7 separate regions of the Homo sapiens genome follow, and regions 1, 2, 3, 5, 6 and 7 are each linked to region 4. Evidence: promoter capture Hi-C in 16 types of primary human blood cells and fetal thymus (Javierre and others, 2016). All regions are on one chromosome and are shown on one strand. Each heading gives the region's core, a stretch centred on a gene start or on the middle of the fragment in contact. The rest is flanking DNA. Distances are from core to core; before and after follow the strand shown. Region 1 overlaps RNASE11-AS1 (RNASE11 and RNASE12 antisense RNA 1). Region 2 has its middle 13 kb from the start of RNASE9. Region 3 has its middle 4.0 kb from the start of TRT-TGT3-1. Region 4 holds the start of TEP1 (telomerase associated protein 1). Region 5 has its middle 6.9 kb from the start of RNASE9. Region 6 holds the start of TRY-GTA5-3 (tRNA-Tyr (anticodon GTA) 5-3). Region 7 has its middle 3.6 kb from the start of TRP-TGG1-1.

Region 1 (2,795 bases), core at 39-2,538, 190 kb after region 4:
CCCGGTGGCAGAGGCGCTGCTTGGATGCGCCCCAGTGGAAACATGGGAGGCAGTGGACAGGTCTCCCACAAGTGTGAAGAAGGCACTGAAGCAACTGGAAGCTCACACCACCAAGAAGGGGTGCACCTTCGCCAGCAGAGTTGGATGGGCATTTCTGACTGCACTACGTGAAGTATACGCTCAGTCCCTGCGGGACATGGCACAGCTAAAGGACCTTCAGGCCTAAGTTGGGTCTCTGGGGGCCCAAATGCACAGCTTGGAGCAAAACCTGGGTGTAAAGGACCTCCAGGTGCAAGCAGGGTGCTTACAGGCTCAGATAAACAGCCTGGAGCAGGAGCTGGAAATAACTGTTGGCATGACCTTGAGCCCATCCTCCAGGCCGGACACTCGCGCTTGGTCTGATCCTGAGGAGGAGGCTCCTCTGCTGTGGGCTTGTCCTGTGATCCATCAGAAGGTAGAACATGAGCAGCTGATGGGACCCTAGGGGAGAGCCCAGAGGCCCCCCGCAGTGGTGGAATACACCTCCTATAGTGCTTCTCTTTCCACTGAGTTTTGGGAGTTAGGTAAGCAATGCAAGGAGCACCCAGGGGAGCCCCCCCTGCCTGGCTACCCCATTTTGGGGATGAGGGGGCTGACAGCGTTTCTTGCTCTGCCTCCGAGATGGAGAAGCTGGCTTCTATCATAACTCACCCCTCCCTTCATCAGTGGCTGCAGCTGTGCCGATGGTTGGCACAAGGGCAAGGTGATCACATGTTAATTGAGTGGCTGATGGCAGCCATATGGACTGTTAGGAAGGATGCTGGAGAGATACCAGAAATTATGAGTCAATGGCAATCATAGCTGATTTGGTACAGGTACTCCTGGAGATGGGCATGCGGCAGGCTATGTTGGATCTGAATCCCTAGAGGCCAGATGATGAACATTTTATCTCCCACGTGAGGGATCTTGTGCTGACTGGCAGCCTCTGAGTGCTTTTGGCTCTCTAGCTGCTGTTCTTACTCCATATGTGGGGTGCCACATACATGAAGTGACTACTGCTATGGCAGCCCTTGAGGAGGCAGAAGGCCATCAGCGGGATTGGGGAATCCGCGCCATAAAGAAGGGGAAGGTGCCCCCTTCACAGGTAACCACCCCACGAAATAAAAAGGGACCCCAGCGGGTGACCCGCATGCAGATGTGGATGGATTTACTTGCAGCCGGGGTTGCTCGGGAGGAAACTGAGAGGAAACCCAATGGAATGCTGTTGGCTCTGTGGAGGCAATTGTACCCCCAGCAGCAATTCCGGAAAATACCCGAGGGGGCAAAATACTGTTGCTCAACCCAGCCCCGCGGGGACACGGCAGCTCAAGGATGATTTGCAGACTGGTGAAGAGACTGGGCCCTTCCTGTTTGATTAGGGAACTGGCCGAGGTGCTTGGCTTGGTGGGGGGCGCCGGACGACTGGAGGCCTCATGTGGAACTGGGAATCCACTAGTCCCCCACCAGTGTACAGCAGGTCCTAGCACTGGTATATACTGGTGCAGACTGCAGTCTTGTTTATGGGAACCCGGATAAGTTTCCAGGAAAAGCTGCATTCATTGATGGTTATGCGGGCCAGTCAGTGAAAGTGAAACCTGTGTCTCTGCATCTTGGAATTGGCCGCTTGGCTTCCAGCCTGTACGCTATGTATGTTTCTCCTATACCTGAATATATTCTGGGGGTGGACATTTTGCATGGTCTGGACTTACACACCACGGCCAGAGAATTCAGACTCCAGGTTCGTGTAGTAAAGCCGGTACTGCGTGGGCATATACATATCACCAGCCCCAAGTTCTGCCACAACCCCGACAGGTTACCTCCATTCATCAATACCGTTTGTCAGAGGGGCATACAGAGATAACCAAGACGATTAAGAAGTTAGAGGAGGTGCAAATAGTGCCTGACATCCATATCCCCTACAGTTCCCTGGGATGTCCAGTCAGAAAGCCTGATGGGACTTGGAGGATGAGAGTGGATTACCAGGAGCTGAATAAGGTGACACCCCCTCTGCATGCAGCTGTACCATGGATTTGAGGGACCACCTGACAATGGAACTGGGACAGTACCACTTTGTAGTGGACTTAGCTAATGCACTCTTCTCCATCGACATTGCTCCAGAGAGCCAAAAATAATTTGTCTTCACATGGGAAGGGTGGCAATGGACGTTTACTGTGCTGCCACAGGGCTATGTGCATAGCCCCACCATTCGTCATGATCTTGTTGCCATGGACTTAGATGCCTGGAAATGTCCAAAAGGGGTTTGCCTGTTTCATTACATTGATGGTGTCATGTTAACCTCTGATTCTCTTGCAGATTAAGAAGCAGCAATGCCCCTCTTGTGGCAAGAGTTGGCAGCGTGCGGTTGGTATGTCAATGCATCCAAGGTCCAAGGGCCTGGATTGTCTGCCAAATGCTTGGGAGTTGTTTGATCAGGTAAGACAAATGCCATACCAGAGGCCATCATTGACGAAATCCAGGCATGCCCCTGACCCACCACGGTGAGGCAACTGCAGACCGTTGTGGGCCTCGTGGGGTATTGGCGGGTATTCGTGCCCCATTTGACTCAAATGATAAAACTGTTGTACCAGTGAACAAAAAAGGGAGCTACGTGGGATTGGGATGATGAGGCTGAAACAGGCTTTCTGGCTGCCAAGCAGGCCATTCAGCAAGCACCAGACTTACAAGTAATTGATCAGGGGCACCCATTTGAAGTTGATGTACTTGTAACCACAGATGGTTTCAGCTGGGGCCTACAGCAGCACACGGAGCACTTTAGA
Region 2 (2,877 bases), core at 147-2,646, 160 kb after region 4:
AGTAGAAGGTCATCAATACCAGCTATGACCACGTGACCAGCTGCAGAAACAAGGACTGTAACTGTCATGAGTATTTCCTCCTTCTTTTGTTAAATGCATGTTTGTGCATGTATACACTATTACTAAGAAAATATCTTCATTTTATTTCCTTTATCATGTGACATAAGATTTATTGACTTCATATCAGCATGTAAGTATTGTTAACTTTATGTAATAGTATTTGGGTTGGAGATTGGTGCGTTTCCAATTGTATGAAGGATAGTTGTATTATGTTAGGCATAATTATAACCTTATTATTGTCTTTATTTGAAGATTATGTGTGTTCTCAGGAGATGCGTATGGATTCAAGTTGACAAGCGGTGGACTTGTGATGGTTGTTACTGAGTGTCAACTTGATTGGATTGAAGGATGCAAAGTATTGATCCTGGGTGTGTCTGTGAGGGTGTTGTCAAAGGACATTGACTTTTGGCGAGGGGCAGACCCACCCACCCTTAATCTGGTGGGCACAATCTAATCAGCAGGCAGAAAAATGTGACAAGGCGAGACTGGCCTAGGCTCCCAGCCTACATCTTTCTCCCGCGCTGGATGCTTCCTGCCCTCAAACATCAGACTCCAAGCTCTTCAGTTTTGAGACTCCGACTGGCTTTCCTTGCTGCTCAAGCTTGCAGATAGCCTATTGTGGGATCTTATGATCATGTAAGTTAATACTTAATAAACTCCCCTTTATATATATATATCAATCCTATTAGTTATGTCCCTCTAGGGAACCTTGACCAACACATGTTTTGGGGTAAAATATCTTTGTTTTCTTCCTTGTCTCATAATGTTATGCCAGAGTCAGATTGGAAAGTAAGTCACGATATATAGGGTTAAACAAAACTCATCTGATGATAATTTATGGTTTGTAGGGCATGACTCCCTAGACCCCTTAGATAGGAATTTAGGTAAGATAAAAAAAAATCAGAGCTTAGTCCTCAAATGAGATGTTACCTCTCCCCAGTTAATATAGCTATTATCAAAAAGAAAAATATATAGCAGATTCTGGTGAGGATGTGGAGAAAGGGGAATGTTCATACACTACTGGTAGGAATGTAAATTAGTATAGCCACTATAGAGAACAGTATGGAGATGCCTTAAAAAACTAAAAATAAAACTAACAAATGATCCAGCAATCCCACTGCTGGGTATATACCCAAAAGAAAGGAAATCAATATATCAAAGTGGTATCTGCACGCTTATGTTTATTGCAACACTATTTACAATAGCCCAGTTATAGAATTAACCTAAGTGCCCATCAATGTATTAACAAATAAAGACAATGTAATATATATAAACAATGGAATACTATTCAGCCATAAAAAAAACAATGAACTTCTGTCATTTGCAGCAACATGGATGGAACTGGAGGTCATTATGTGAAGTGAAATAAGTCAGTCACAGAAAGACAAATATTGTACATTTCATTCATATCCAGGAGCTCAAAAAGTTGATCCCATGGAGGTAGAAAGTAGAATGATGGTTACCAGAGACTGGGAAAGGGTGGGAAAGGAGGGGTAAGAAAGGCTAGTTAATGGGTAGAAAAAATACAGTTAAGTAGAAGGAATAATTTCTAGCATTCAATAGCATAGTAGGGTGACTATAGTTACCAATAATTTATTGTACATTTCAAAATAGCTAGAAGAAAAGACTTGGAATGTTCCCAACACAAAGAAATGATAAATGTTTGAGGTAGTGGATATCCTAGTTACCCTAATTTGATATTACACATTGTATGCATGTATCGAAGTATCCAGTGTATCTCATAAGTAGATACAATTATAATGTATTAATTAAAAAAGAAAGGAAAAAAAAAAAGACTGGGAACATCTTCCAGCCAAGATGGATAACACAGACCTGATTTACTTCCCCATCCAAAACCATAAAAAAACTAACAAAAAGCATTAAAACTTATTTTCAAGACACTGAACTTGAGGCCACGAAACACACTCATCATTGAGAGAGAGGAACCAAACAAGGTGAGCCCTACAATCACTCAGCTTGCTGTCTATAGAGATTTTAGGCAAAAGTAAAGGAAGAGTAAACTTAGAGTCTTCAGACTACCTGAGTTCAGGACATGAAACTGAGAGGTCAAAGAAGCTTGAGCCTTTAGGATAGAACATGTGAGATGAGAAAGCTGCATGGAGACATAACCTTAGAGATCTGCACAGGGCTCCTGTAATGGTCAATACCGAGTGTCAACTTGATTGGATTGAAGGATGTAAATGATTGATCCTGGGTGTGTCTGTGAGGGTGTTGCCAAAGGAGATTAACATTTGAGTCAGTGGGCTGGGACAGGCAGACCCACCCTTAATCTGGGTAGTAGTGGTCGATAATTAACTCCGGACTAAGCGCTTCTTCAGAGCTGTCTAACAAATCATAAAGTCAAGATCCAAAAGGATCAAAGTGGTTCCAAGTAGCTTAAACGTATCCTTGAACAACACTCAAGAAGATTTATAGGAATATACAAATATTCCTACAAGGTAAGCCAACAATGTAGAATTCAAAACATCTGAAATCCAATCAAAGATTACCAAGCATGTAAAAGAGCAGGAAAACACAAACCTTTATGAGGAGAACAATCAGTCAATGGAAACCGAACCAGAGCAATTACAAATTTCAGAATTAACAGAGAAACAGTTACCACAACTGAATTCTACACAGGCAAAAGAAAGGGTTGAGTTTTAGATGATTAAAAAAAAAATCAAACTTTTAGAAATAAAAACTACAGTGTGTGAAATTAAAAAAAATATACACTGGTTGCGATTAATGGCAGATTAGAAATTGCATAAGAAAAAAATAGTATACAATAAATGCAAGTAGCCCTGGAGTCTCTAAAGG
Region 3 (2,808 bases), core at 14-2,513, 200 kb after region 4:
TGTTTGTCTGTATTTCTTCCATTTCCCCTCAACTTTTCATTTGGAAAAACTTTAATCCTAATGTGGAAATAAATGAACACCAGTTAATGAGAACCAGCAAAAGCTATTCAGAGCTTTCTATAGCAAAGGAGTTAGCAGCCTTCACTTGTGATTTTTTAAAAATATAATTTCCATATTATTTTTCTCTAGAGAGAGTTTTTCTTCAATCCTTAAGGACTCACCTTCTTATATGGGCTTTGGTAGGGGTCATGTGGCAGCACCCATAGGTCTGAATCAGGGTGGCGGTGTTCGGTCCTTGCAAGCTTCACAAGATTAATTCCTGTCTACCTTGCTGTGAATGACACAACTCCCACCGTAACAGAATTTCACGAACAACTTGGGAAGCCCATAGGCGTCAAAGATACTAGCTTCAGAAATGTCCCTGACAGGTGCAGTCTCTACTACGTTTTGAATGATGAACTTCTTAATAGTCTTGCCTTTGGGTAGGCATAGGGCATAATTCATGTAGCAAATAGGCTGCACGTGGCTGTGGCCCTTTTTGGCATGACCATTGTTATTTCTTTTCTTTGCCATCTTGGAAGTGGGGACCCAAAAGAACGTCACTTGTGATTTGGCAGAGACTCAAAGGCAAGCAGAGGAGTGGGAAAACTTTATAGTGGACAAAGGGAAGCCTTCAAGTGTGCCCTGACTGGAGACTGTGGCATGGGGACACGGTGGGCAGGCTAACTAGAAGCGGGGCATCCTATGTGATTGGTTAGGGATGCATATTTGGCTTTCTCTGGTTGATGCTAACTTGGAAACAGAAACAAATAATAGGAAAGGTGTTAATTATTCATAAATTCCTAGCCACTGGGTCTGGTTTTTACAGAGGTTATTGTTTGGCTTCCTGGGCTGGTTGCTTAGAGATAGTGGTCTGACTTCCTAAAAGTCTGGCTTAAAGGCAATGGACTGGCCGGGCGCTGTGGTTCACGCCTGTAATCCCAGCACTCTGGGAGGCTGAGGCAGGCGGATCACCTGAGGGTCAGGAGTTCGAGACCAGCGTGACCAAAATGGTGAAACCCTGTCTCTACTAAAAATACAAAATTAGCCTGGCGTGGTGGTGCATACCTGTAATCCCAGCTACTCAGGAGGCTGAGGCAAGAGGATTGCTTGAACCCAGGAGGCAGAGATAGCCAGTGATAGGCGGTGAGCCAAGATAGTGCCATTGCACTCCAGCCTGGGCAACAAGAGTGAAAATCCGTCTCAAAAAAATAAATAAATAAAAGAGAGAGAGAGATAATGGGCTGGCTTCCTGTGCTGGTCACTGTGGGTTGACTTCCTGCACTGGCTGTTGTAGGTTAGTGCTGGTCAGAGGTCTATTTTTATATATGTTCTGGCCACTGTCTGTTTGTATAGTAATACCCTAGGGAAAAGTTAAAAAAACGGTACGGTAAAACCTGTATACCCTTTAACTAGAACACCCATTATTAGGAACATTTGCATCCTTCTTACCTACCCTTCCCCCTGTTTACATGTACTATCCAAGAGCAGAATATTAGTACCATAACACACCCAAGAAAATTTATAATTCCTTATATGCTAGTAGACATACAGTCCATATTCAGATTTCCCCACTTACCCACTCCCTATTAAAATAATGTAAATTCTAACAATATATCTCACTGCATTTAGTTGTAACATCTCTTTGGTCTCTTTTAATCTAGAAAATTCCCCTCCTCTTAGACTTTCTTTTCTCATGGCAGTTGTCTTACAGGAAGTCTCACATTCTGAATGTGATTATTTCCTCATATAAGATTCAGTTCAATATTTACTTATTTCCTCATGATTAGATTCAGCTTAAATATTTTTGTCAAGGACCCTACTACTAATTTTCCAGGATAGATTGTCTAGGGTCTAGGTAGGACTGAATTTCTAGTAAACCAAGCAGGAAGAATGAAGTCTAATGACTGATACTTATTTACATGACAGTGCACTATTTCAAGGAGCTTCTGTTCAGAAAAGGAAACTATTATGTCATCCTTTGGGGAAGACTTTGTAATTTTCAGCTTCATTGGCTATAGAATATTTTTAAAGGTCAGGAATTTATATCCCAGAAAAGTAGGCACAATTACCAGGACTCAACCAATTATTCACTGTAACAACATCCACGAACACCTATGACAGGCATACTGGTTTCCAAGATACATAGACTGTTTATCTCAGACATCAAGGAACGTGAGTTTGCAAAGCTTTAGCCACACACACACACACACACACACACACACACGTACTTGCCTCGATTTGTACTTTCTCAAAGTTTTCTTCAGATTTCCACAGACATCTTACCTTCTGGAAACTGAGGCTACACTCACTCTGGTGATTATCAGTTACCACTTGTATTGCCATCTAACTGTAGTGTGTGTCTCTGTGTGTTTGTTCATTCTTCTAGGTTTGTATTGTATATATTGTAAAAGGTGGAGAAGATATTTTCTTTTATTCAAATTCAAGTTCCCAATGAGCAAGGATAATATTCTTGTTTGTCTTCTGCTCCTCCCCAAACCTGATCAAATGATAAGCACAGATTTATTTGGTGGATGTGAAGTGGGCAAGATTCTATTTCCGAGACCCAAAAGGCTTCCTGGCACATGCACCCCACTGGCTTGCCTCAAATGTTTAAACCCATTATAAACACTCCTGTGTGTTCACTGAGAAGCTGACTGTGTTTTGAGCACTTGGTACACTATGGAATTAAAGTCAGGGACTAGGAAAAGCAGTAGAGGGAAATCAAAGAAGAAATTAAATTGTACATCAGACACGATCTTTTTAAAC
Region 4 (2,700 bases), core at 68-2,567:
TTCTGTGCCCAATACACTTTGCTCATGTCGTTGCCCTATATAAGCCCCCAAGGAAAGGAGTGGGGAAACTCAGAATTGACTCAGATTTTTTTTAAAAGAGATCTCAAGCCAAAAATAAACAGAAAAATAAGGACAGTTTATTTGAGCAACATAGTGAGACTGTCCTATCCTTAAAAGGACAGTCTCACTATTTTGCTCATTTTATTGTTTTGCACCCTGGAGTTTTTGAAAGGAGATTCGGCTGAACCACAAATGGAAAGTTAAAGTTCCGTCCCCACTTCCATCTCTAGTTCCCTTCTCTGGAAGTAAACATTGCTCACAGTTTTATACTAACAGTTTCACAGTTTCTATGCATATGCAAATACATGCCTTCACCATCACCACTGCTTTTGCTTTTGCTTTACACAAACAGGATCATAAGTTAGATGCTATTCTGCACTTAGTATATCTCAGAGACCTTGCCCTGTTAACACATTAATACCCACCTCACTCTTTCCTTTTTTTTTTTTTTTTTTTTTTGAGGCGGAGTCTGGCTCTGTTGTTCAGCTCACTGCAATCTCTGCCTGCCGAGTTCAAGCGATTCTCCTGCCTTAGCCTTCCGAGTAACTGGGATTACAGGCGCCCACCACCATGCCCGGCTAATTTTTTTGTATTTTCAGTAGAGAGGGTTTTCACCATGTTGGTCAGGCTGGTCTCAAACTCCTGACCTCAGGTGATCCCCAACCTCCGCCTCCCAAAGTGCTGGGATTACAGGCGTGAACCACCGCGCCCGGCCTCCACCTCACTCTTCAAGTGGCTGTATGGTAGTCTAGCACATTTAAGCACAGTCTGGGTTTCTATTATCACAAACGGTTCTCATACTACCATTTGTTGGTGACAGCCACTGTCCCCTTTCGATGGGCACACAGGGCAAGGAAGTAAGAGGGGATGATTCTTACGTGGTCTCTCTTCCTGTCCCTCCCTCTCCTTCAGCCTTCTCCTCCTCCTTTCTCACCTCCCCTTTCACGCAGTATACACTCCCTCCCCTTCCCGGAGCCGCCGGGAGGAGCAGGGTGGATGCACCCCTAGCTGAGTCTCGGGTGGTTCCTAACCGGCCCCGCCAGGCACTTCCCACCCAGCTCTCAGCCTCAGAGCCCAGCGCCCTAGACCCAGGGCCAGGGCAAGTTCTGCCTGCGCTCGGACCCTACCTTAGACTGGGGCTGGAAACCCTGGGTGCCTGACCTGGGGCGTCCGATTCCCGCAGCAGGAAGCAGAAACTTCGCTCTGGATTCTGCCGGTGGGAAGGGTGGCAGCCGGGGGAGGAGCCGGATGCGGATCTGAGAAGAGACGGTGCGGGCGGAGACTCTCGGGCCCGGGCGGGGCGCAGCAGCTGCTGGAAGGGCAGCGAGCCGAGGGCCGGGCAAGACGACATGCCAGGGCTGCGACGCGAATGCCCAGGACCCCTGCCGCCTTTTCTGGGGCCCGAGTTTAGTTTGTTATTGTTTCTATTTTTTTTCCCTTTCTGGTCCTATTTTCTCCTGTCCCTAGGGCTTCCCCCTCTACCAAATTCGTCTCCTCTGGCTAATTTTCGTCTTTTTTTCTCCCATTAACTCTTCAAACACCGTTTCCTGGAAAAGATTTTAGCATGCTCGCTGCCTAGCTGTACACCTCTCCTTCCTAATATCAAAGACGGTCAGACTCAATTCATCCTAAAGTTCCTTTGAGGAACTCCTTAAAAGGAGACGGAAAGCGGAAAGCAACCGCCTGTAACCAAGTGTAGACATCAGTCAATCAAAGTTCGCTGAACTGAGAGCAAGTGCCTCCCCTCCTGTTGATCAGAAGAGAGATCCGTGGATCACACAGAATCTATCTGGAGCCATCCTGAATGATTAATGCTGAACCCTTTCCAGGAAGATGGAACCAGGCTTAGGAAAGAGACAAGTGACCCTTAGGTTAATAATCCTAGCTTCATAAAGAGAGGACCAAACATAGTAGCAGGAGAAATATGCTTTCTGCCTTTATATAAAGCAGATTAGCTGTCTTCTGGAAAATATCATTGCTTTCCTTAGAGAGGTACCCTTGAGTCTCAGGTAACAGCTGAGCTTCCGCTCAGAATTGAGGGCATTCTGTCCTCTATTAACTGAGCCAGTACCCCTTTCCTTCCTTAGAAACCTCTATTGCCACCAGTCCCAACACTCCCTGCAATGGTCTTTATGTTTGTGTCTCCCCAAAATTTATATATTGAAACCCTAATCCCAATGCGATGGTATTTAGGGTGGGATCTCTGGGAGGTCATTAGGTCATGGAGTTTAGAATACTCATAAATGGGATTGGTGGCCTCATAAGGAGAGACGGAAGAGCTAGCTAGCTCTTTTTCCACGATATGAGGATACAAGAAAACAGCCATCTGCAATCCCAAGGAAGACCCTCATCTTCAGAGGCAGACCATGCTGGCAATCTGATCTTGGACTTCCATTCTCTAGAACTGTGAGAAATAATATTTGTTGTTTAAGCCACCCGGTCTACGGTAATTTGTTATAGCAACCTGAACTAAAACATTTCCTTTTTATAACAAATATTTTAAAGCTCTTTTTATTTTTCTGAAACATAATTCGTAAAGAATGTAACTTACCCCCACGCACAATTTTAAACCAAAATTTAAAGACAAAAAGTAGAGACAGGGTTTTGCTATGTTGCCCAGGCTCTCTACCTCCAGGGCTC
Region 5 (2,748 bases), core at 70-2,569, 140 kb after region 4:
TTTTCTTACTCTTGGGAATGCTTTGCCTACATTCTTTCACTGAGTAAGTATAATTTAAAGTTAGTGTTGCATCGCCACTTCATATCCATTGAAATTGCTATTAGATATTAAAAAAAGAAGTATTGATGAGGGTTTTGAGAAACTGGAACCCTAGTGCACTACTGATTGGAATGTAAAATGGTTCAGCCACTGTGGAAAACAGTATAGTAGTTTCTTAAAAAAAAAAAAAAAGAATTACCATATGATCCAGCAATTCCACTTATGCGTATATACACCAAAAAAAAAAAAAAAATGGGAAACAAGGACTCAAACAGATATTTGTTTGTCAATGTTCATAGCAACATCATTTACAGTAGCCAAATGGTGAAAACAACCAAAGCTTCCTCAATGGATGAATGGATAAACAAAATGTGTTATATACATACAATGGAATATTATTGAGCCTTCAAAAAGGAGAAAATTATGACACATGAGTAAAACTTGGAGACATCAGGCCAAGTGAAATAAGCAAGTCACAAAAGGACAAATGCTGTATGAGTCTACTTATATGAGGTATCTGGAGCAGTCAAATTCATAGAGACAGAAAGGAGAATGGTGGTTGCCAGAAACTGGTGGAAAGGATGAAAGGGGAATTATTATTTAAGTGAGTAGAGAGTTTTAGTTTTGTAAGATGAAAAAAGTTCTGGAGATGGATCACAGTGATGGTTGCACAACAATGTGAATATACCTAATGCTATTGAGCTGCACACTTAACATGATTAAAATGGTCAGTTTATGTCATGTATATTTTATTACAATTGAAATAATTAATGGGGTATCATCTCAAGGAACGCTAGCATAAATAATAAATTGTTATGTGAGTCAAAGTTGTGTACAATGTTCATTTTAACAATGAAGTTTGATATTATTGAGGATAGAGTGTTAATATATGTTGGACAATAACTATTTGAAATATTATAATCAGTGAAGCTGAAATTACAGCTTGGACTTACCATAGGGAATCTGGTGGATAGGGGCCAGGATCTTGGTTTCTTGTGCAATATTAGACTACGGGGGAAATCTGTGCAAATGAGCCTCATTCTATTTCTATGATTCTAATTCTAAAAGGCATTTGGATCGGATTTTCTATTCTGGAGAGAGAAAAGTTCATTGTGATTGTTTTCATGTCTTAGTTATTGTACTATACCATATCTTTCTTTTTTTCTTTTTTTTTTTTTTGAGATGGAGTCTCTCTCTGTCACCCAGACTGGAGTGCAGTGGCGCAATCTCGGGTCACTGCAACCTCCACCTCCCAGGTTCAAGTGATTCTCCTGTCTCAGCCTCCTGAGTAGCTGGGATTACAGGCACGGGCCACCACGCCTGGCTAATTTTTGTATTTTTAGTAGAGACAGGTTTTCGCCATTTTGGCCAGGCTGGTCTCGAACTCCTGAGCTCAGGTGATCCGCCTGCCTCAGCCTCCCAAAGTGCTGGAATTACAGGCGTGAACCACTGCGCTTGGCCATATTCTTATAAATATATTTTATATTTTATGTTGTATAACCTCCAAGATCAATGAGATGAACATGACCCAGAGAGATGGTCTGTAGAACATAGCCAGGCTAGCCCATGTGCAGAATTTCTTCAGCTCATGTACAAAAGGTTGGGTTTTAGAAGGTGTCATGGAGATTTCTAAAAGTTGGATGGTACCTTATTCACTCAGACATTTCAATGAAAAGCCATGTGCCTCCAAATGAAGATTGGTGCTGTTATTAGTCACGGTTCTCCAGAGAAAAAGAACTAATAGAGCATATATTGATACATGGAAAGAGATTTGTCATGTGGAATTGGCCCACACAATTACTGAGGCTGAGAAGCCCCACAATTTGCCATCTGCAAGCTGGGAAGCTGGTGATGGAGTTCCAGTCCAAACCCAAAGGTTCGAGAATCTGGAGAGCCAGTGTCATAAGTTCTAGTCTGAATATAAAGGTCCAAGAACCAGAAGCACTGATGTCCAAGGGCAGGAGAAGATGGACGTCTCAGTTCAAGCAGAGAGAGTCCATTTGCCCTTGCTCTGCCTTTTTGTTCCATTTAGGCCCTTAACAGATTGGACGATGCCCACCTGCATGGGTGAGGGAGATCTTTACTCAGTCTATGGATTAAATGCTAACCTTTTCCAGAAACACTCTCACACTTACACTTAGAAAAAAACGTTTTACCAGGTATCTGAGCATCCCTTAACCCAGTCAAGTTGACACAGAAAATCAACCATCACAAGTGCCTAGAAGCTTGATTTCCTGTGTTCCTCCCTTAGACACTAAAATGGAGTCTAGCCGTCCTTCGTTCTAGGCCCTTACTTACATCAACCTATTGATAAATTAGGAGCTCAGCTCTGAGTATAAAGACAGGGGTAAGGAATGGGAGGAGACTAACAGACTGGACTGGGGTAAAGCATGCAAAGAGCAATGGATGCCTCACTACCATCCCCCATTACTACTCTTTACCCCAGTTTCAGAAAGTTTTAAGCAGTAATAATAACAAGATGTTAAGAAGTTTGAAGAAGGCCGGGCGCAGTGGCTCAAGCCTGTAATCCCAGCACTTTGGGAGGCCAAGGTGGGCGTATCACCTGAAGTCGGGAGTTCGAGACCAGCCTGACTAACATGAAGAAACCCCGTCTCTACTAAAAATACAAAATTAACCAGGCGTGGTGGCACATGCCTGTAATCCCAGCTACTAGGGAGGCTGAGGCAGGAGAATCGCTTGAACCTGGGA
Region 6 (2,941 bases), core at 274-2,773, 240 kb after region 4:
CAGACAGGGTAGCTTTAACAACAGGAATTCATTTTCTTACAATTCTAGAGGTTTGAAGCCCAAGATCAAGCTACTGGTTTCTGAGACCTCTCTTTGGCTTGCAGATGGCTACCTTCTCTCTCTGTCCTTACACAGTTCATCCTTTATTTGCATACATCTCTGGTGTCTCTCTGTGTCCAGATTTTTTTCTTCTTATAAGGGTATTAGTCAGATTGGATTATGGCACACCCTAACAGCCTCTAACTTAATCACCATGTTAAAGGTGCTATCCTATAGTCACATTCTGGTGTATGGTGATTGGGGCTTTAGCATATTAAATTTTGTAAAGACACAGTTCAGCCCATAATACCTCCAATTCTATTTTCAGCATAAATAGCAGTCAAAAGAGAGTTTACATTGAGGGCACTTGGTTGGGGGGTGTTCTAGAACTTATATCTTCATTAAGATCCATGGATGCATTCTAAAGGAATTGCTCAAGGTTGAACTCCTGAAAATAAAAAATAAAATCACAAAACAGTGAGATGCAAAAAATTTATGAGCAAGGAAAGAAATAGAACTTATATGTAAATGTAAATAATTGTTAAGACATTGTTTTAATATACATGAATTCAATTTTCTAACATGTTATTCAAATATTTCATCTAGTTTCATAAGAATATCAGTTATAGTGTCACCTAATGGCCATAAAAATCAATGACTTGGAGATAAAAATCCCAGATTATATAAAAAATTTGAAGATAGTAGAGAAAGCAATGACTTGAAGAATGAGCAGACTCCCAAGGCCACAGCATAGGCTGTGGGAAGCTGGGTAATCCGGAAAGGCCTTGCTAGGTTTCTCCTGGGAGAGTGTGGATGCTGGCTGGCAAAGCCTTTGACCAGGCAGAGATGCAGCCACGTAGTTTTGGTGCGTGCGTGTGCAAAAGAATACGGCAGCTCCTTCGAGCCGGAATCGAACCAGCGACCTAAGGATGTCCACAAATGTTTCTACAGGCTACAGTCCTCCGCTCTACCAGCTGAGCTATCGAAGGGCGCACGTTTCTGGGGTTGGGTCATTGATCTTTCAGCAAATGCAAGACTCCTTGCAACTCTAGTCGTCCAATAAGCTTTAAGTTGGTTGGAACTCGCCTTAGAGAGATAATCCTGCGCCGATCGCCACCGCGCTCCTTTTGCGGCGGAACAAAATCCTCTGGCTGTGGTTGACTGGCTTTCCCCGGCATCGATAACAACGACCCATGAGGGGCGAGCCGGGTAGGGGGCGTGGGGGTAGTGGTGGGAGTGTGCTCTCACTTGCTATCTTCTTCCTCCTGTGCATCCCCCTTTCTACAGGTGAGGATGACAGACCTCAGTGGCAAAAAAAAAAAAAAGTGAGAGGGTGAGAGGCAGAGGGGTTGGCGAGGTGGATGCAGGGTGCGGGGGTCCGGTGAGGGAAGGGTTGCTGGAGGAGAAAGGAGGAGACCTGGAATGGACACTGGTAGAAGGCTTCCAACCCCAGCCGAGCCGCAGGGTCTGGTGGTGGCCGGTAATGAGGCCCTTCCCTAACACTCTGACCTCCCTACACCTTCCACTGCTCTCCCACCCCCTCATCCCCCACCCCCGTTCTTCCTCCCGATGCGCTTTCTGCCTTCTACCTACAGTATCCTAAGTTCACGTATTGGCCCGTTGAGGTGTACTGGGAAGTGAGGGAAAGAACAAATAGAATTAGGTGAGGAGACCCCTCCCAGGGATTGCAGAGGCACATGTAATACCCCTCCTCCCTCGGGGCCAATCTGGTGGTTGGCTTCCCTCCTCTGCAAACCAATCAGAAATATTTTGCCACTTGCAACTTCTAGAAGTAGGACAAGGCTCTGTGGGCTCTGAAAAAGCAAAGGGGCAAGGACCAGCCTGAGCAACACGGCAAAACCTTATCTTTACAAAAATTACAAAAATTAGCTGGGTGTGGTAGCACAAGCTTGTAGTCCCAGCTACTTGGGAGGCTGAGGTGGGAGGATTGCTTGAGGCCAGGAGTTCAAGGCTACAGTGAGCTATGATTATGCCCCTGAATTCTAGCCTGGGTGACAGAAGAGACCCTGTCTAAAAAAAAAAAAAAAAAATAGGGGATGGGTGAAGTAGAAGACAGAAGTGTCAGTGTTGGACTGCTTACCCTGACCCCATGTGTTTGACAATGTTTCAGATCTTATCTGGTGTGTGTCACTATATCGGGGGACCTGCCCCGATAATCATGTAGGTTCTTTTCTATTTTCCTAAGCATCGACTGGCTTGAGAAATAAAAGGACAGAGTACAAAAGAGAGAAATTTTAAAGCTGGGCATCCGGGGGAGACATCACACATTGGTAGGATCCGTGATGCCCCACAAGCCACAAAAACCAGCAAGTTTTTATTAGGGAGTTTCAAAAGGGGAGGGAGATACGAATAGGTGTCGGTGACAGACATCAAGTACTTAACAGGGTAATAGAATATCACAAGGCAAGTGGAGACAGGGCGAGATCACAGGACCACAGGACCGAAGTGAAATTAAAATTGCTAATGAAGTTTTGGCACCATTGTCATTGATAACATCTTATCAGGAGACAGGGTTTTGAGATCAACCGGTCTGACCAAAGTTTATTAGGCGGGAATTTCCTCTTCCTAATAAGCCTGGGAGTGCTATGGGAGACTGGAGTTTATTTCACCTCTGCAATCTCGACCATAAGAGACAGGTACGCCCCGGGGGGGGCCAGTTCAGAGACCTACCCCTAGGTGCGCATTCTCTTTCTCAGGGACGTTCCATGCTGAGAAAAGGAATTCAGCGATATTTCTCCCGTTTGCTTTTGAAAGAAGAGAAATATGGCTCTGTTCCCCCCGGCTCACCGGCGGTCAGAGTTTAAGGTTATCTCTCTTATTCCCTGAACATTGCTGTTATACTGTTCTTTTTTCAGGGTGCCCACATTTCATATTGCTCAAA
Region 7 (2,762 bases), core at 217-2,716, 220 kb after region 4:
TTGTGAAAATGACCATACTGCCAAAAGCAATCTACAGATTCAATACAATTCCCATAAAAATACCATCGTCATTCTTCACAGAACTAGAAAAAAAAATCCTAAAATTCACATGAATCCAAAAAAAGAGCCTGCATAGCCCCCAAGCAAAGTTAAGTGTAAAGAACAAATCTGGAGGCATCACATTACCTGTCTTCAAACTATACTGCAAGGCTACAGTTACCAAAACAGCGTGGTACCAGTAAAACAAAACAAAACATGTAGACCAATGTAACAGAATAGAGAACCCAGAAAAAAAACCAACTACTTACAGTCAACTAATCTTTGACAAAGCATACAAAAACATAAGTGGGGAAAGGACGCCCTATTCAACAAATGGTGCTGGGATAATTGGCAAGCCATATGTAAAGGAATGATATTGGATTCTCATCTCTCATCTTATACAAAAATCAACTCAAGATGGATCAAAGACCTGAAATCATAAAAATTCTAGAAGATAGCATCAGAAAAACTCTTCTAAACATTGACTTAGGCAAATAATTCATTACCAAGAACCCAAAAGCAAATGCAGCAAAAACAAAAATAAATGAGACCTAATTAAACTAAAAAGCTTCTGCATAGCAAAAGAAATAATCAGCAGAGTAAAAGACAACCCACAGAGTGAGAGAAAATATTCACGAACTATGCATCCAACACAGGATTCAAATATCCAGAATCTACAAGGAAATAAAACAAATCAGCAAGAAAAAAGTAAATAATCCCATGAAAAAGTGGGCAAAGGACATGAATAGACATTTCTCAAAAGGAGATATACAAGTGGCCAATAAACATGAAAAAATACTCAACATCACTAATTATCAGGGAAATGCAAATTAAAACCACAGTGAGATACCACCTTGCTCCTGCAAGAATGGCCATAATTTAAAAATCAAAAAATAATAGATGTTGGGGTGGATGTGGTAAAAAAAGGAACATTTTGTACACTGCTGGTGGGAATGTAAACTAGTACAACCACTATGGAAAACAATATGGAGATTCCTTAAAGAACTGAAAGTAGAACTACCATTCAATCCACCAATCCCACGACTGAGTATCTACCCAAAGGAATAGAAGGCATTATATGAAAAAGACACTTGCATACACATGTTTATTTACAGCAGCACAATTTGCAAGTGCAAAAATATGGAAGCAACATAAATGTCCATCAACAAATGAGTGGATAAAGAAAATGTGCTATATTGGCCGGGCATGGTGACTCACGCCTGTAATTCCAGCACTTTGGGAGATGGAGGTGGGTGGATCACTTGAGGCCAGGAGTTAGAGACCAGCCTGGCCAACATGGTGAAACCCTGTCTCTACTAACCAGCTATGGTGGTGCATGCCTGTAATCCCAGCTACTCGCGAGGCTGAGGCAGGAGAATCATTTGAATCCAGGAGGCAGAGGTTACAGTGAGCCAAGAACGTGCCACTGCACTCCTGCCTGGGTGTCAGAGTGAGACTCCGGCTCAAAAAAACAAAAATAAAGTGGTACATATACACCATGGAATACTACTCAGCCATAAAAAGAAACAAAATAATGGCATTGGATGGAGTTGGAGACCATTATTGTAAGTGAAATAACTCAGGAATGGAAAACCAAATATTGTATGTTCTCACTTACAAGTGAGAGCTAAGCTATGAGGATGCAAAGGCATAAGGAGGAAATAATGGACTTTGGGAACTTGGGGAAATGGTGGGAGGGCACTAAAAGATAAAAGACTCCATATTGCCTACAGTATACACTGCTCGGGTGATGGGTGCACCAAAATCTCAGAAATCACCGCTAAAGAACTTCATGTAACCAAAAACTACCTGTTCCCCCAAAACAATTGAAATAAAATAAATAAATAACAAAGAACACATTGACTATTTCAAATAAGAGGACAAGATCAGTTGTGCCAAACTCTGCTGAGGTAAGTATAAAGAGTAACATATGCTTGCTGAGTTTAGCATCATTGTCATTATCAATGATGTCATTAAGAGCTTCATTTATTTATTTAATTTTTGAGACCAGGTCTCACCCTTTGGCCCAGGCTGGAGTGCAGTGATGCGATCTTGGCTGACTGTAGCCTCGAAATCCCAGGCTCAAACAATCCCCCTTGTTGGCTTCCCAGCATGCTGGGATTGTAGGCGTGAGCCACTGCACCTGGCCTTATTCAGAGTTTTATATGTAAAATGATGCAAACAGAAGCATTTTCTACTTCTTCTAAATTAAGTATATTCTGTCTTAACTGTATGTTTAAAAACAAAATACAAATTTCATGTCAATGAAGGTAAGATCTTTGAAAGGAAAGCTTAGAAATAAATATCAATAAACAGATTTTTATTTATTCTTTTATTTAATCACAAACTTTCATGGACACACAAGTTTGTATCACTGTTATATGCATGCACACATTCACATGCGCACTCAATCTACACATACCATCATACCAAAATTTCAGGCAAATTTATTTCATATAATAGTATGAATAAAGACGCTTGTCATGGTACCTTTATAGAAATTCGAAGCCAGGCGCGGTGGCTCACGCTTGTAATCCCAGCACTTTGGGGAGGGTGAGGCTAGCAGATCACCTGAGGTCGGGAGTTCCAGACCAGCCTGACCAACAAGGATAAACCCCGTCTCTGCTAAAAATACAAAATTAGCTGGGTGTGGTGGCACGTGCCTATAATCCCAGCTACTCGGGAGGCTGAGGCAGGAGAATCGCTTGAACCCGGGAGGCAGA

What was found. Contacts are between HindIII fragments. The CHiCAGO score rates a contact against its expected background, and 5 or more counts as called.
Region 1: a fragment that was not itself captured here is called in contact with the fragment with the promoter of TEP1 in region 4 in 16 of 17 cell types (megakaryocytes, naive CD4 T cells, naive CD8 T cells and 13 more); the score reaches 26.4 in megakaryocytes.
Region 2: a contact is called between a fragment that was not itself captured here and the fragment with the promoter of TEP1 in region 4, in 10 of 17 cell types (naive B cells, naive CD8 T cells, megakaryocytes and 7 more). The highest score is 11.8, in naive B cells.
Region 3: a fragment that was not itself captured here is called in contact with the fragment with the promoter of TEP1 in region 4 in 17 of 17 cell types (naive CD4 T cells, naive B cells, megakaryocytes and 14 more); the score reaches 18.2 in naive CD4 T cells.
Region 5: a fragment that was not itself captured here is called in contact with the fragment with the promoter of TEP1 in region 4 in 13 of 17 cell types (naive B cells, naive CD4 T cells, total CD8 T cells and 10 more); the score reaches 10.1 in naive B cells.
Region 6: a fragment that was not itself captured here is called in contact with the fragment with the promoter of TEP1 in region 4 in 9 of 17 cell types (naive B cells, non-activated CD4 T cells, total CD8 T cells and 6 more); the score reaches 6.8 in naive B cells.
Region 7: a contact is called between a fragment that was not itself captured here and the fragment with the promoter of TEP1 in region 4, in 13 of 17 cell types (naive B cells, naive CD8 T cells, erythroblasts and 10 more). The highest score is 12.2, in naive B cells.

What each region holds. Positions count from the first base shown.
Region 1 is chr14:20,600,332-20,603,126 of GRCh38, forward strand. RNASE11-AS1 (RNASE11 and RNASE12 antisense RNA 1) reads left to right here. Exons shown (of 5, transcript NR_122043.1): 4 at 2,332-2,451. Among named protein-coding and RNA genes, the nearest start is that of TRP-AGG2-5, 7.7 kb to the right of the region's middle. The HindIII fragment of the contact is 8,760 bases long and covers 1-2,795 here.
Region 2 is chr14:20,572,758-20,575,634 of GRCh38, forward strand. No RefSeq gene overlaps it. Among named protein-coding and RNA genes, the nearest start is that of RNASE9, 13 kb to the left of the region's middle. The HindIII fragment of the contact is 1,475 bases long and covers 660-2,134 here.
Region 3 is chr14:20,616,419-20,619,226 of GRCh38, forward strand. It overlaps the pseudogene RPS26P9. Among named protein-coding and RNA genes, the nearest start is that of TRT-TGT3-1, 4.0 kb to the left of the region's middle. The HindIII fragment of the contact is 1,926 bases long and covers 301-2,226 here.
Region 4 is chr14:20,412,184-20,414,883 of GRCh38, forward strand. TEP1 (telomerase associated protein 1) reads right to left here and starts at 1,318. Exons shown (of 55, transcript NM_007110.5): 1 at 1,222-1,318. RefSeq lists enhancers at 156-1,072, 182-351, 902-971, 1,472-1,521. The HindIII fragment of the contact is 9,686 bases long and covers 1-2,700 here.
Region 5 is chr14:20,552,759-20,555,506 of GRCh38, forward strand. No RefSeq gene overlaps it. Among named protein-coding and RNA genes, the nearest start is that of RNASE9, 6.9 kb to the right of the region's middle. The HindIII fragment of the contact is 1,885 bases long and covers 378-2,262 here.
Region 6 is chr14:20,652,165-20,655,105 of GRCh38, forward strand. It overlaps TRY-GTA5-3 (tRNA-Tyr (anticodon GTA) 5-3), which reads right to left and starts at 1,028; the gene lies at 935-1,028. It overlaps LOC124903281 (a long non-coding RNA gene), which reads left to right and starts at 1,148. Exons shown (of 2, transcript XR_007064059.1): 1 at 1,148-1,326. The HindIII fragment of the contact is 845 bases long and covers 1,102-1,946 here.
Region 7 is chr14:20,635,195-20,637,956 of GRCh38, forward strand. No RefSeq gene overlaps it. Among named protein-coding and RNA genes, the nearest start is that of TRP-TGG1-1, 3.6 kb to the left of the region's middle. The HindIII fragment of the contact is 1,723 bases long and covers 606-2,328 here.